Linked DNA regions of Homo sapiens: regions 1 and 3 are each linked to region 2. Evidence: promoter capture Hi-C in 16 types of primary human blood cells and fetal thymus (Javierre and others, 2016). All regions are on one chromosome and are shown on one strand. The core of a region is centred on a gene start or on the middle of the fragment in contact, and the rest is flanking DNA. Distances in the headings are between cores, read along the strand shown. Region 1 overlaps USP19 (ubiquitin specific peptidase 19). Region 2 holds the start of C3orf62 (chromosome 3 open reading frame 62). Region 3 overlaps TCTA (T cell leukemia translocation altered).

Region 1 (4,523 bases), core at 24-2,523, 170 kb before region 2:
CTCCATAGTGGTTGATGACAGCATATAGATCGTAGCTGGGCAGCTGCTCCTCTTTCTGACCAATGCAGAACTTGCTCAGGTCCAGGTTCCTGCAGGTCAGGTCCAGTCAGGGAGGGGTGAGACAGGCAACAGGCGCTCAGGATGCCCATCCTGGTCCTCACACCCCACCCACAGTTACCAAGGTCCACTGCTTACCTAACAGGGAACTCCACCAAGTCATTGATCTTGTCACGCCAGATAAAACTACGAAAGGAGAAGCGCTTGAGCTGCACGATGAGAACATTTGGCAGGCGCCATAGCAACAGCTGCTTGGAGGCCTCACGGTGCTGTTTGCACTGTGGGCAGTACCTGGTGGGGACAGAGATTGGGTCAGGACCAGCAAGTCTCTCTCTTCTCCATCCTGCCCCCTTATCTACTTGCTGCTCTGTTCTCACCAGGCCTCCTCGGGTGCCAGCACCTCAGGCCGTGTGAAGAGGTTGAGGCACTGGTCCAGGGTGAAGTGGCCGGCCCGGGCAGCCTCACCGGCAGAGCCTGGATCCTCAGCACATTCCAGCTCCTTGGAGGCTACCAACACAAACTCCTGCAAGCGCTCATTGTTCCGCCAGACGAGAGCCAGGCTACAGTCGTCACCCAGCTCCAGTGGGGTGTCTCCTGGAGATTCGCAGGGAGAGAGGTCATGCAGCTGTGGAGAACAGCCAGCTCAACCCACCCCATGGCTCCCACCCACAGCCTCAGACACCTTTGTCCTCTAGCCGCTGCTCTCGGTTGGATGAATCAATTTTATAGATGAAGAACTGGGGTGTGTGGGCATTCATAGCTTCACTTGGATGCTGGTACCCAGGCACAGCAGCTGTGTGAGAACATGATAATCAAAGCTTCCCTGCCCATCAGGGCCTCACCAGGCCCACCAGGCCCTAAACAACAGCCCCCTCCATCCTCCCTTATCCTCCTCCCCAGCTTCTAGAGCCTTTCACTGGATCTTACCTTCGGGTCGGGACACCCTCTCGCCAGCTGGCAAGGAGCCAACCTCAATGGGCCCACTGGCCAGCATCTCAGAAGAAATTCCACTGGTGCTGGGCACAGGACCCCGGTCAGGGGCTGCCCACACCCGGGGAAGCCCTGTGTCCCCCTCAGCCATAGGGGTCACCAGCTGGAGCTCAGGTGGCTGAATGGGGTCTCTCTCGCTGTCCCCAGCCTCCAGGGAACCTGTGGAGAGCAGTGTGGTGCAGCCAGGGCTCTGAGACTCCAAGGCCATGCGGCCTGGCTGAAAGGGTGGCTGGAATACACTCACAGAGTACCTGGCAACAGAGAACAACGCAAGTAAGACTCCTGACCAGCCCATCTAGCACCTCTGCCCCCACCTACACCACTCTAGTCCAACCACTGGGCACTTACCGGGCATAGCCCTCTAGCAACTGAGCGAGGCGGGCATAAGTGAGGCGTGAGGCAGGTACACTGACCAGGAAGGGGTAGCCAATGTTCTCAGGTCGGCAGAGGCCCTTGTGGTCAGGCCAGTGGGTTTTCTGGCAGAGCCTGACGGGAAGAGGAAGACAAGGATAGGCCCTTAGCCCCATCTCCTATGACTCCATACTGGGGGCTAGTCATAGTCCCTGGGAACTGGGTACGCCAGCCCTGCCTCCCCCAGAGCCTGGTAAAGTAGGGTGGCAAGTAGAAAGCTTAAGCATATGTGCCTTGGTGTGAAGGGAAGGAGCAGGGTGGCACATGGAAGGTGGAAAGAAAGGGTAGGGGAGACCATGGGGGTCCTCACTGGTTGCAGTAGCCCACACGGTAGCACCGGGTACAGCGCTTCAGCTTTTCATCCTCCGACTGTTGCTTCCGCTGGCAGGCTGCACACTTGGAGATGGGGACGCTGGGCACCTGGGGGCGCTAGGGTGGGTCGTCTGGCTCAGCAAGACCAGGAAGAAGTGCCCCACCCACCAGGGCGCTGTGCCATCAGGTTGGCCCCCACTCACCTGTTGCACCTCTAGCACCACTACCCGCTCCTTAGCCAACTCTGAGGATAGCAGCTCAAAGCAGAGGAGCGTATCAGATGGGGACACAGTGTCCAGTGAGTGGGAGGGTAGGAACACACGATGAAAACGATTCTTAATTACCTGGGGACAGAGAACACACAGATCCCACGTGAGGATAAGCCCTTTCCCTAGCCCTGCCCCAGAGTTTAAGAAGGCTTGGCCCTGCCTTGGGTCTATGTGGGCAGTGGTGAGGTCTGTAGGCCCAAATAGGCTTATGCCTCTGCTGGCACCTGTCTCAGTGCCCAATGCCATAAGGAGCCTGGTGCATCAGAGGGCCTGAAAGACCAGGTGTGAGGCAGATATCAACCACACCAGCTCTCCACACTGAGGGACTCTGCCCTGCTATAACTAGCATAGCCTTATAAGACTGTAACATATTATCATGGAGGGTCCACATTCAAAGAGCCTCCTCCCCACTCTTACCCCTAAGAAAACCAACACTGTCAGGCTAAAGGCTAGGAACCCCTGGGGAGAGCTAGCACACACAACTGGGATAAAAGGAGAGAGCAGCAGGATAGAGGGAGAGGCAGAGCGAACATAGGGATAGTCCTGCAGCTCAAGCTCCTTGTCTAAAAAGGGAAATGCAGTTGGGATCCACCACCACAAAGGGGAATAAACCCTGATAATGGCTAGGAACTGAGGGCACTTCTGTTGCACAGAAAAAATAACAGCACATCGCCTGTTTTTGTACAGTCACAGGCATACTCATGTGTATGTCTATTTTTATTTTATTTTATTTTATTTTTGAGACAGAGTCTCACTCTGTCACCCAGGCTGGAGTGCAGTGGCGCGATCTCGGCTCACTGCAACCTCTGCCTCCCAGGTTCAAGCGATTCTCCTGCCTCAGCCTCCTGAGCAGCTGGGACTACAGACATGTGCCACCACGCCCGGCTAACTTTTCCTGTATTTTTAGTAGAGGTGGGGTTTCACCATGTAAGCCAGGGTGGTCTGGATCTCCTGACCTTGTGATCCATCAGCCTTGGCCTCCCAAAGAGCTGGGATTACAGGCATGAGCCACCACGCCTGGCCCTATTTTTATTTTTTTATCTATTTATTTATTTATTTTTGAGACAGAGTCTCACTCTGTCACCCAGGCTGGAGTGCTGTGGTGCAATCTCTGCTCACTGCAACCTCCACATCCCGGGCTCAAGTGAGCCTCTTGCCTCAGCCTCCCAAGTAGCTGGGACTATAACACGTACCACCATGCCCAGCTAATTTTATTTCTTGTAGAGACAGTGTTTCACCAAGTTGCCCAGGCTGGTCCCAAACTCCTGGGCTCAAGTGATCTGCCCACCTCGGCCTCACAAAGTGCTGGGACTACAGGCATGAGCCACTGTGCCCAGCCCATGTGTATGTCTGTAGATGCCAATGACTGTACACACGTCTGTGGTGAGTACACACACACATCCACACATGTGATAGCCCAAGGAAGGACAAAGATACCTCCGCCAAACGCAGGTTCTCAGGCTTCACATGAACACTCTGAGAGAGGGAGTCCAATACTTCGCTCGCAGTGGAGTTCTCCTTGCTGACGCTCACCAGGAACTGTGGCAAAAAGGGCAGTCAGTGAGGGAGGTGGGCCACGTTCTCTAGAACAGCCCAGAGGGTAGGGGCTTACTCCTCACCTTGATGGGCTTGCTGTGGGGCTCTCGGGCAAAATAAAAGACAGGGAGAACCTTTTGCTTTTGTGGCAAGGGCACCGGCAGATAAAGAAACGGGTCAAAAGTGATGGAGACCTGTGGATGTAGAGGTGGCACTGGGTAGCTGCACACAGAGTGGGAGATAAGATGCTCATGCTCAGAGAGCCCATTCCGGGGCTTCTGATGGCTCTCAGGGCCCCCACAGCCAACCAGCAAACTCTCAGGCTTCAGGACACTAGACAGGGCAGGAGGACCACCAGGAAATAACAATCCTTCTTTCTGGCACTCAAAGCCCTACTCAGCTTAGCCACTTTACGAATTGGCCTCACACTTGCACCCCATGTGCCCACAACCCTGCTACAACACCTTTGAGCTCTAACATCACTTTTCCCTCAGTCAGGAAGCCTACCCTGAGTGGGCTCTTCAGCCCAAATAGAATCCTAAGGCCTCCCTGCCAGCTTCTTTGCCCAAACCTTGCCCTGTAGCACCTTAAGATGCACATGCCTCTGAACCTAATGTGACCAGAATAGCTGAGCTGAACTAGGGGGTCTCTTTCCAGGGGAGCCCATCACACCTTGGCACACACAGGGCACACCAGCTTCGACTTGTACTGCCCCTGAAATAGGTCCACGATGAAAGAGTCATTCCTCATCTTGTGCCGCTGCCATGCTTCCTCAGCTACCACCTGAGAGGCAGAGTGGTGAGAACCAAAGAGTACCAGGGGCTGGGATGCTCATGAGACATGCCCACCCTCTGTCCCTAACCCTGACCTCATCGGGCCGCCCATCTGAATCCACGGTCTCTGTGTAGGGCTTGTTCTGAATGCGATTCAGGTCCTCGTGCAGCCCAT
Region 2 (4,326 bases), core at 506-3,005:
TATCCCCTTCCTATGAAGCAGCCAAGATGGCAGAACTTTGAAGTTTTTTTTTTTTTTTTTTTTTTTTTTTTTGATACGGAGTCTCGCTCTGTCGCCCAGGCTGGAGTGCAGTGGCGTGATCTCGGCTCACTGCAAGCTCCGCCTCCCGGGTTCATGCCATTCTCCTGCCTCAGCCTCCCGAGTAGCTGGGACTACAGGCGCCCGCCACCACGCCCGGCTAATTTTTTGTATTTTTAGTAGAGACAGAGTTTCACCGTGTTAGCCAGGATGGTCTCGATCTCCTGACCTCGTGATCTGCCCGCCTCGGCCTCCCAAAGTGCTGGGATTACAAGTGTGAGCCACCGCGCCCGGCCTGAAGTTTCATCTCATACATTCATCCCTTCTCCAAGTCAAGGTGCCTGGGACCAGGCAATTTCAAGTTACTCGGGAGAAGAAAAAGTCTAGAAGAGACCTGGTGATGGTCCAAAAAGATCTGGGGTAAGAGCGGGGAGCAGAGGCAAAGATGAAGCCAGGAAGTAGGGCCCAGCCTTCAATTAAGCCTCTCCCTAATGTGGGCAAAGGAGGGTATCAAAGGCCCCAGTGTCCAGATTCAAACACAGGAGTTAAGATGGAATTAAGACTTTTGTTTCTGCAACTTAAAAAATAAGGTTATTTTTAAAACCCGGTTATTTTACATCCACTACCCCTTTGGGTACTGCAAAGTGGTTTCCATGACTGGTTTTTGACATCAACGATTGACAACTAGCCCCTCAACTGGAACATATACACAAAATATAACTGTTTCCTAGGCCAGATTCTGAAGAATGTCTGTCAACTCCCCAAATGCAGTCACAGAGCTGCCAAGAGGAGGCAAGAGCACTGTCATGAACTAAATCTAGGATCTTCAACAACTTTTTCAGAAACAAGAATCCCCTTAATTGTAGCTGTTAAACCATCAAAATTAGAATCACCTTAAATTTTCTTTTCTCCAGTTTTCCCCCTCTCCTGCAGTTCTCCAAGACTCTCTTTCAGGTGCCAAAATGGAGGAATGCATCAATACATTTTCCTTGCTGGTTAGAGGTTTTCTCTCGGGGCACAGAGCATGTGGTTTTGCATTTACCGGGGCATGGTTTGTTGCAAAGGCAGGGTTCTCATTCTCAGGAGCACATGGGACAGCAGCAAAAGGAGCAGCAGAAGAGCAGGCTGCCAGAGGATGTCTTCTGCAGAGGAGCCTGTGCACGGGCAGCGAGAAGGAGAGCGGCGCGGCGCTCAGTTCCAGCCTCTGCTGGCCTGTGCACTCCTGGGAATAACTAACTCCTTCAAAGGCCCGGTCAATGGCTGCAGTCAGTTCCTTTCTGCATCTTCTTAGTTTTTCAGACATTTCTCCTAAAAGCGACCATGTCTTTATGTAATGCATTGGAAATGCACAGGACAACACAATAATGTTACAAATGAGGCTGCAAACTACCCCTGAATGGCCACGATTTCCTGGAGCTTGGCCCTGGCTATAGCAGGACCCACAACCCTCGGGCTTTCCTCCTGGAGTAGGCGGTTCTCGGCTCTCGCGGAGGAACCCGCCATCTGCCAGAAGCCCCAAAGACGCCCCGCCCCACTTCCCACAGCTTCCTGGCCCGCCCCGCCGCTGCCTCCCGCCCCACCGCGGCTCCCAGGCCGCTGGCCCTACCGGCACCCCCCCTTTGGCGAGTCGGCAGCCACGTCCTTGTCCTCACCCGCAGCGCAGTGACGCCGACCCATCCAACGGTCATCGCATGCGCGTGCCCCGCGCAGGCCCCAAACCCCCACGGATTAGGTTGAAGGTCAGACAAAAAATCCCGGACCCATACGTCCGGTTCCTTAAGGCCTTGCCCACACGCAGCGGCTGGCCCCGCGGTGGGAGTGGGGACGGGGCTTTCGAATGGGGGCCCCGGGAAGAGTCTTGGCAGGGATGAGGAAAGAACCCGTTCTAGAAAGCATCTGGGTAACACCAAAATGTATTACTACCCTAAATCGCCATGAACTGGAGCCCTTTCCCGGCTAACTCCCACAAAGATTTCTGTTCTCAAGCCAACATGGAAACAACTAGACGGGACACAGCACCGGGCAGTTTTATGTACTGACTTCCTTTAAGCGTTATCTAATAAAAAGTGTGTTATCTAATAAAAGTTCCACACAGTATTTAACCGTCTTAATTCATCTAGGGTAGCAGGGGATATAACAGAACTGCTGGGTTCCACAGGAGGTTGAGGGGCCAGGATCCCCAACACTAGATATCTTCCTTAGCGGGGAGAAAGCTGGAAATTACAAGATGACTCAACGGAGAAATGGGCTTCAGTGGGTAACTTTCAGAAAATTATAAACCCATATCAGTGCACATAGCGAGGGAAAGGGGAGTTTACTTGAGGTTTGGGTTACTGTGAGCAGACTACTTGGGGTGACTAGTATTGGCATCAGAACCAGAAATCCAGGCGCTCAGGGCAGCCCTGCAGGTGGGGTGGGTCTCCAGGCTGCTCCATACTCAGCGCCTGTGTTCCTCTCCATTCTTCGGGATCCATCAGACATACTCCATTGAGTACCCCCATCCCACCCCCTTTTCAGCTTCACAGGTTTCACAGAAATTTCTCACCACCTGTTTAAAAATAAAAATAATTCAGCCTCTTGACATAGCTTCTTCTAGGTAAACGGTCTTCTTTTTTTTTTTTTGTTTCCTTCTGCTCATAAAAGAAGGGTATTTCCTTGTCTGGTTTTTAGACAGAACACTAGCAGTCTGCAGAGTGTCAAAGATGTTCTCCTGGGGGATTACACTGGCGCTACAGGGTGGCAGGATCGTGGAGTCAGCATTAGTTGGTGTCCATGCTGCAAGCCTCATCATCCCCAAAGCCCTGCTGAGAGCTGCTTGGTCGTGTCCCTCCATCAGAGGAACCAGAACTGCTAAGTGAAGGTGTCTTATAAAATTCATCATCTCGACGTTGGTAAAATAGCACATAAGCTGCTTTAGTCTGAAATACAAGAGGGGGAAAGACCATTCAGTGCTTGGAAAAATCACCCATTTTCCCCAGCTTTTCTCTAGCTGTCCAAAACCCTCAAGGATCTGCCATATCCACACAGAGGAGACCCTTCCACCTGAGGATGGCTGCCCCTGCCAGGCAGCAGGAAATGGAAGGAGCCTTGTGCAGAGAACTCTGAGGAGAGCTGAGCTTCTCATTTATGAAGGTCCCTGAAGGAATGCCAGCCAGCTCTGTCACACCTAGCTCCCACTATCACATCAGGATGATGAAATAACCAACTAGCCTGATAGAGGCTCTTCCCAGCTTTAATCCATAACGACATGAGGAAGAACCACATATCATGGCCTACTCACCACTATCTGATCCTCAGAGGCCAGGGACACGTTGCTATCATCAAAGTAATACCATTTACCATTCAGTTTGTTCTTCGCATATGCAGTGTCTGCCAAGTCAACAAAGAAAATACTCTAGCGGTCTCCAGAGAATTAATCTGGCTAGCTTATTAGGCTTGCACTAAATAAACACAAAAATCCCCAAAACAAAACCCCTGAAATTAAAAAAGTTTACAGTGTGTGTCTTAACAACCAAAAAACAACTCACCTTCTTTTCTAATCTGTTCCTTCTCAAAAAGGATCAAAAGGCTAAAAATGGAGCTGTCAGGGACCAAGATTTTAAACTATAATTTTGGGAAACTAATAGAAAAAACAGAGCTATTCAGTGCCAATCTTCAGGATGGCTATGTGCAATAATCCAAAACCAGGGAACCCATAAAAGGAGCTGAAACTTCTAAGATTTAAGCAAAACAATAGCTCTCACAAGGACATGCCAAGTCAGTCTCCCCCATTGCATCTAGGCAGGTGGCTACTAACATCAACAGAATGCTTAGTGCCTCGGGAGCCTACAGAATAATCCCAGTTAGAGGAACATTGGGTGTTTGGGTTTGCAGAGCTGGGATGTGAACAACATACCTTAGTCTCCATATCCAAAAAAAAAAAAATTTATCTTTCTCTAAAACTAGGAGTCCAGAGTCTGTGGTTAGGTAACAGTTTCCCACAATGATTCAAGCATTTCCCAGAGGCAATGCTTCTTGTCTTGACTTTACACTATTCCCAAGCAGGATGTGTTTATTACAGCAATCCCAGCCCAGTTCCTGCTCCACCCAGACTCTCAGAAACTACAGAACCCAATGGAGATCTGATATCCAGTGTCAACTTACTGTGTGGTTTTAGGTAAGGTGTTTAACACTTCAGCCTCAGTTTCCTCACTATAGCATTGACTGCACAAAGTGGTGGTGAGGATCATGGGAAAGGGCAACAGAGAAGGTGCCCAAGGCCAGTTCACA
Region 3 (4,069 bases), core at 1,245-3,744, 140 kb after region 2:
AGATCTTGCCATTGCACCCCAACCTGGGCAACAAGAGTGAAACTCCGTCTCAAAAAAAGAAAAGTAATAACAATAGTAATAAATAAAAAGAATAAAAAAACTAGAGAAGGATGGCAATGCCGTACTAACATGGAGAACCAGGAAGAAGAATGAGTCTGCAGGGAGAAGGTGCTGGGCCCAGGGTGGGCTGTGGGAGACCAGCAGAGAGGTCTAGATTGTTATGTGACCTTACTGAGCCTAGCTCAGCCCCCAAGAAGGAGCTTGGGAGAGCCAATTTCAGCAACTGTTCTGCCCATGGAATAACCACTCTCTCTTCTCTCTCTCCATCACTTTCAGGGAAATGGCAGCAAACGAACCTCTCAAAACCCACAGAGAATAAGGGAAGGCAGCAGAGGGTCTCCAAGGGCATCACTGGGTCTGCTGGCTTCTACACTGGGTTCTGCTACTCCCCAGACCTCAGGGACAACTGCCGGGGGTTCAGGGTTGGTAGCAGGGAGTACCCAGTGCCTACAGGGCTGGGCCTCTTCTGCCTCTTAAGCCTGCTCCCTCACCCAGGCACTGGGCAAGTGAAGAGTTTGCCTGTACTCTTATCTGGGTGCCTTAAGGAGAGAGATTGTGTTCTTCCTCTCTCAGGGGTGATAACTCAGGAAGCCTCTGGGTTGGGAAGACCATCAGTTCTTTTGTCTTAGGTTTCTTTTCCTGTCCCTCTTCCATCCCCAAGATGTGACCCCATAAAAATTTTTCCTGAGTTGGCCAGGCATGGTGGCTCACGCCTGTAATCCCAACACTTTGGGAGGCTGAGGCAGGCAGATCACGAGGTCAGGAGTTCGAGACCAGCCTGACCAACATGGTGAAAACCCCATCTCTACTAAAAATACAAAAATTAGCCGGGTGTGGTGGCACACACCAGTAATCCCAGCTACTCAGGAGGCTGAAGCAGGAGATTTGCTTGAACCTGGGAGGCAGAGGTTGCAGTGAGCCAAGATTGCGCCGTTGTACTCCAGCCTGGGCAACAGAGCAAGACCCATCTCAAAAAAAAAATTTTTTTCCTGAGAGGAAGCCTGAGGTTGACCAGCTCTGGGGTTTGTAAGGCAGGTCTGTTTTCTCCTAGGCCCTGAGTTTTCTGAATCTCTGGTTTTGCTTTGTTGGCAAGGAGCCAGGGAATCCTGACCTGAGCCAGACCTTAAGCTCTATGGTTATTTAGCTGGCCATTCAGGTATAAGGCAGGGTGGTGTACCTGCTGGCACTATCCAGATGGAGGCACCAAACACCCACATACCTGGCCCAACCAGACTTCTCCCGTGAGCCAGGCAAAGGAAATTGTCATCTGCCAACTGTCCTACTCATATTCCTCTCAGTCCTTCTTGGGGGTAAGCTGATTACCTGAAGGACAGCTGAACCCCTGGGGTAGCCTCCTATCCACCACTGCTTAAGTGCCTATGGGAATGTGGGTCTGCACCTTGTCCCCTCATAGGATGGTACCAAGCATTTAGTGCACAGTGGCCCCATCATAGCCTGCAGCCTCATCATTTCCCATCTGGACCTGGTACAAATGCACGTCACAGGCTCAGCTCCTCCCCACTAGCATTTTCTCTACCTTCAAGAACCAGGCAGCCCTGCCATGTCACAATAGGCCAGGGGAGTTTCCAAAGATGTGGGTGGCAAATGCCCCTATAGAAACACCAGTACCTGAAAGCACTGTAGCCCTGGACCTGCCTCCTTCCCTCGGGGCCATACTTCTGTTTCCATCTGCTGGGCCACCAGCCACTTTAGTGACCCCTGCCTACTTCCTTCCTGTTGGATATCATACTTCCATCTGGCTGCCTTTGCTTAAGCCATCTTTGTGGTAGAGGGGCCCTGGAATTGCAGCTGTACTGAGGATGATGTTATTCACAGCCCCTGGCCCACCCACTAATACTACTGCACAGAGTCAGGATCTCACATTTCACCCCAGGCTCAACTGAGGATGTGGCTTATTAAACACGGAAGTGCATCGGTTGTTGTGGTTATTCAGACAGAACAAGGGTGTGCATGCACAGGGGCAGTGAGAGAGGGAACATCCTGGAAGCTGTTGCCCCTTGGGACCCAGATGCAATAACTTGCAGGGAGGGGAGAGGTGATGCAGCTCCCTGGAGGAGCAGGGATGGGGTGCCCAACAGGGGCAATATCTCCATTTTTATAGACTGGCCCCTTTCAAGGAGAACCTATTCCAAGCTTGTCTTGGAGGCCAGGAAGGCAGGCATTGGGTTGGCATTTCAGGAACCCTGTGAACAGAGAACAATGAAGCTAGAGACTGGCAAGTAAGAAGGAAGTTTAATTTTTTTTTCAGGATTCAGTGGAGTCCATTAATGCATACCAGGGGCAAAGATCAGCCCAGGGTAAGGCAAGTCTGGGAGGAAGCCCACCCTGCCCTACAGCAGCCCTGGAACTCAGAATAGGTGGTGAGTCTGCCATGGTTTGCTACTGGGCAGCACACTAGACCAACTTGGGAATGTGGAAGAGTGAGTCTATGTTCCCTCAGCCATCCCCAAGTTTACACACAGGCATAGCAGCCCTACTGTGAGTCAGCAATCATTCCTGACTTGCAGTAAGGACAATTTGCATTTACGGAAAGCAAACTGGAGGGGGTAGCCTAAGTCCGCACTGCCCATGTTATTACCCTTTGCAATGTGAAAAACCATGGTGAGGTAGGTTGGGCAGGTTTTATCCTCTCCACAAAGGTGAGCCTTTGCTCCACAGCCAGCACCTGGCAGAGTGGGAGAGATGGCAGAACCAAAGCTTCTCATTACCCTCCAGCAGGCAAGAGTAGGTCAGTGGGATCATGGACTGAAACAAGACATTGTGTGAGCTGGTCCGTCACTCAGAAGCAGGGTCCTGAAGGAAGCTGGAATGGCATGAGTTAGGTGGGGGGAATAGGTGGTGTGGCCCCTCAACCAGACAATTAGAATCAGCCTCCACCTTAACTGCCCACCCCCAGTGAGTTCTGCCTCAGCTTCTTGACTAACCCCTTGTAGGGGCAAAACTCCTGGAAGGGACAGCCCCACCCTGAGCCAGCTTCACTTGAGGGTATAGTAGTTTGTGGGCACAAAGGGCATCTTGCTGACTACAGCCATCTGCTGCTTCCGCCGCACCTCTACCAGCAGCATTGTCCCTGGACGACTGTACTCGCAGGGCACATAACCCATCGCCACATTCTTCTTCAGAGAGGGGGAGGGGCAGCCACTAGTCACAGTACCTGTCAAGCAAGCATAAGCCACGCATCAGCACCACCCTGCCAGTGCCCCCACCCTCCTGGGAAGAGACAAGGGTTTCCCAGCTTCCCTGGTCCACCTACCAATCTTGGTACCCTCCATGTTCAGGATGGGACTGTGTGCCCGCATGGGGGCCCCCTCACACATCAACCCCACACGCCTCCGCTGCACCCTGCCCTTCAGCTGGGGAACAATGACCTTGGCTCCAGGGAAGTCCATAGCAGCTCGGCGGCGCTTCCCTGGAGAATGACACATGAGACATAAGCCACAGCCCATAGAAGCCCTGGCCACAGGAGGTCCTTATGAGGTCCTCAAGTAACACACTATCTAGCATCAAGGCCCCTTTGCTTGGGCTACTCCAGGCTCTATTCCTCCCTTCACTGCCGTCAGCCAACCAACCACCTCCTATCCCCTGGAGGCCATGCTGCCCACCTGCCGAGCGTCTTCAGTTTCTTTTTTTTTTTTTTGAGATGGAGTCACTCTGTCGCCCAGGCCTAGAATGCAGTGGCACGATCTCAGCTCACTGCAAACTCTGCCTCCCAGGTTCAAGCAATTTACCTGCCTCAGTCTCCCGAGTAGCTGGGATAACAGGCACCCGCCACCACGCCTGGCTAATTTTTATATTTTCAGTAGAGACGGGGTCTCACCATGTTGGCCAGGCTATTCTCGAATTCCTGACCTCATGATCCACCCACCTTGGCCTCCCAAAGTGCTGGGATTACAGGTGTGAGCCACCATGCCCGGCAGCATCTTCAGTTTCTTTTTTTTTTTTTTTTTTTTTTTTGAGACGGGGTCTCGCTCTATCGCCCTGGCTGGAG

Evidence for each region. The method cuts DNA at HindIII sites, captures the fragments that hold promoters and counts their contacts. A CHiCAGO score of 5 or more calls a contact.
Region 1: a contact is called between a fragment that was not itself captured here and the fragment with the promoter of C3orf62 in region 2, in 1 of 17 cell types (M0 macrophages). The highest score is 5.2, in M0 macrophages.
Region 3: a contact is called between a fragment that was not itself captured here and the fragment with the promoter of C3orf62 in region 2, in 1 of 17 cell types (M2 macrophages). The highest score is 5.2, in M2 macrophages.

Annotation. Positions count from the first base shown.
Region 1 is chr3:49,110,516-49,115,038 of GRCh38, forward strand. USP19 (ubiquitin specific peptidase 19) reads right to left here. Exons shown (of 27, transcript NM_001199161.2): 14 at 4,444-4,523; 15 at 4,248-4,358; 16 at 3,659-3,769; 17 at 3,477-3,578; 18 at 1,974-2,114; 19 at 1,769-1,887; 20 at 1,396-1,533; 21 at 985-1,298; 22 at 740-850; 23 at 435-651; 24 at 196-348; 25 at 1-89. Among named protein-coding and RNA genes, the nearest start is that of QARS1, 8.0 kb to the left of the region's middle. The HindIII fragment of the contact is 801 bases long and covers 874-1,674 here.
Region 2 is chr3:49,275,477-49,279,802 of GRCh38, forward strand. C3orf62 (chromosome 3 open reading frame 62) reads right to left here and starts at 1,756. Exons shown (of 3, transcript NM_198562.3): 1 at 951-1,756. The coding sequence starts at 1,396. USP4 (ubiquitin specific peptidase 4) reads right to left here. Exons shown (of 22, transcript NM_003363.4): 21 at 3,338-3,426; 22 at 1,668-2,975. The coding sequence ends at 2,817. RefSeq lists an enhancer at 1,370-1,439 and a silencer at 1,580-1,779. The HindIII fragment of the contact is 9,716 bases long and covers 1-4,326 here.
Region 3 is chr3:49,414,484-49,418,552 of GRCh38, forward strand. It overlaps TCTA (T cell leukemia translocation altered), which reads left to right. Exons shown (of 3, transcript NM_022171.3): 3 at 337-1,993. The coding sequence ends at 379. AMT (aminomethyltransferase) reads right to left here. Exons shown (of 9, transcript NM_000481.4): 8 at 3,335-3,490; 9 at 2,295-3,235. The coding sequence ends at 3,057. Among named protein-coding and RNA genes, the nearest start is that of TCTA, 4.1 kb to the left of the region's middle. RefSeq lists enhancers at 1,539-1,748, 3,175-3,893. The HindIII fragment of the contact is 564 bases long and covers 2,213-2,776 here.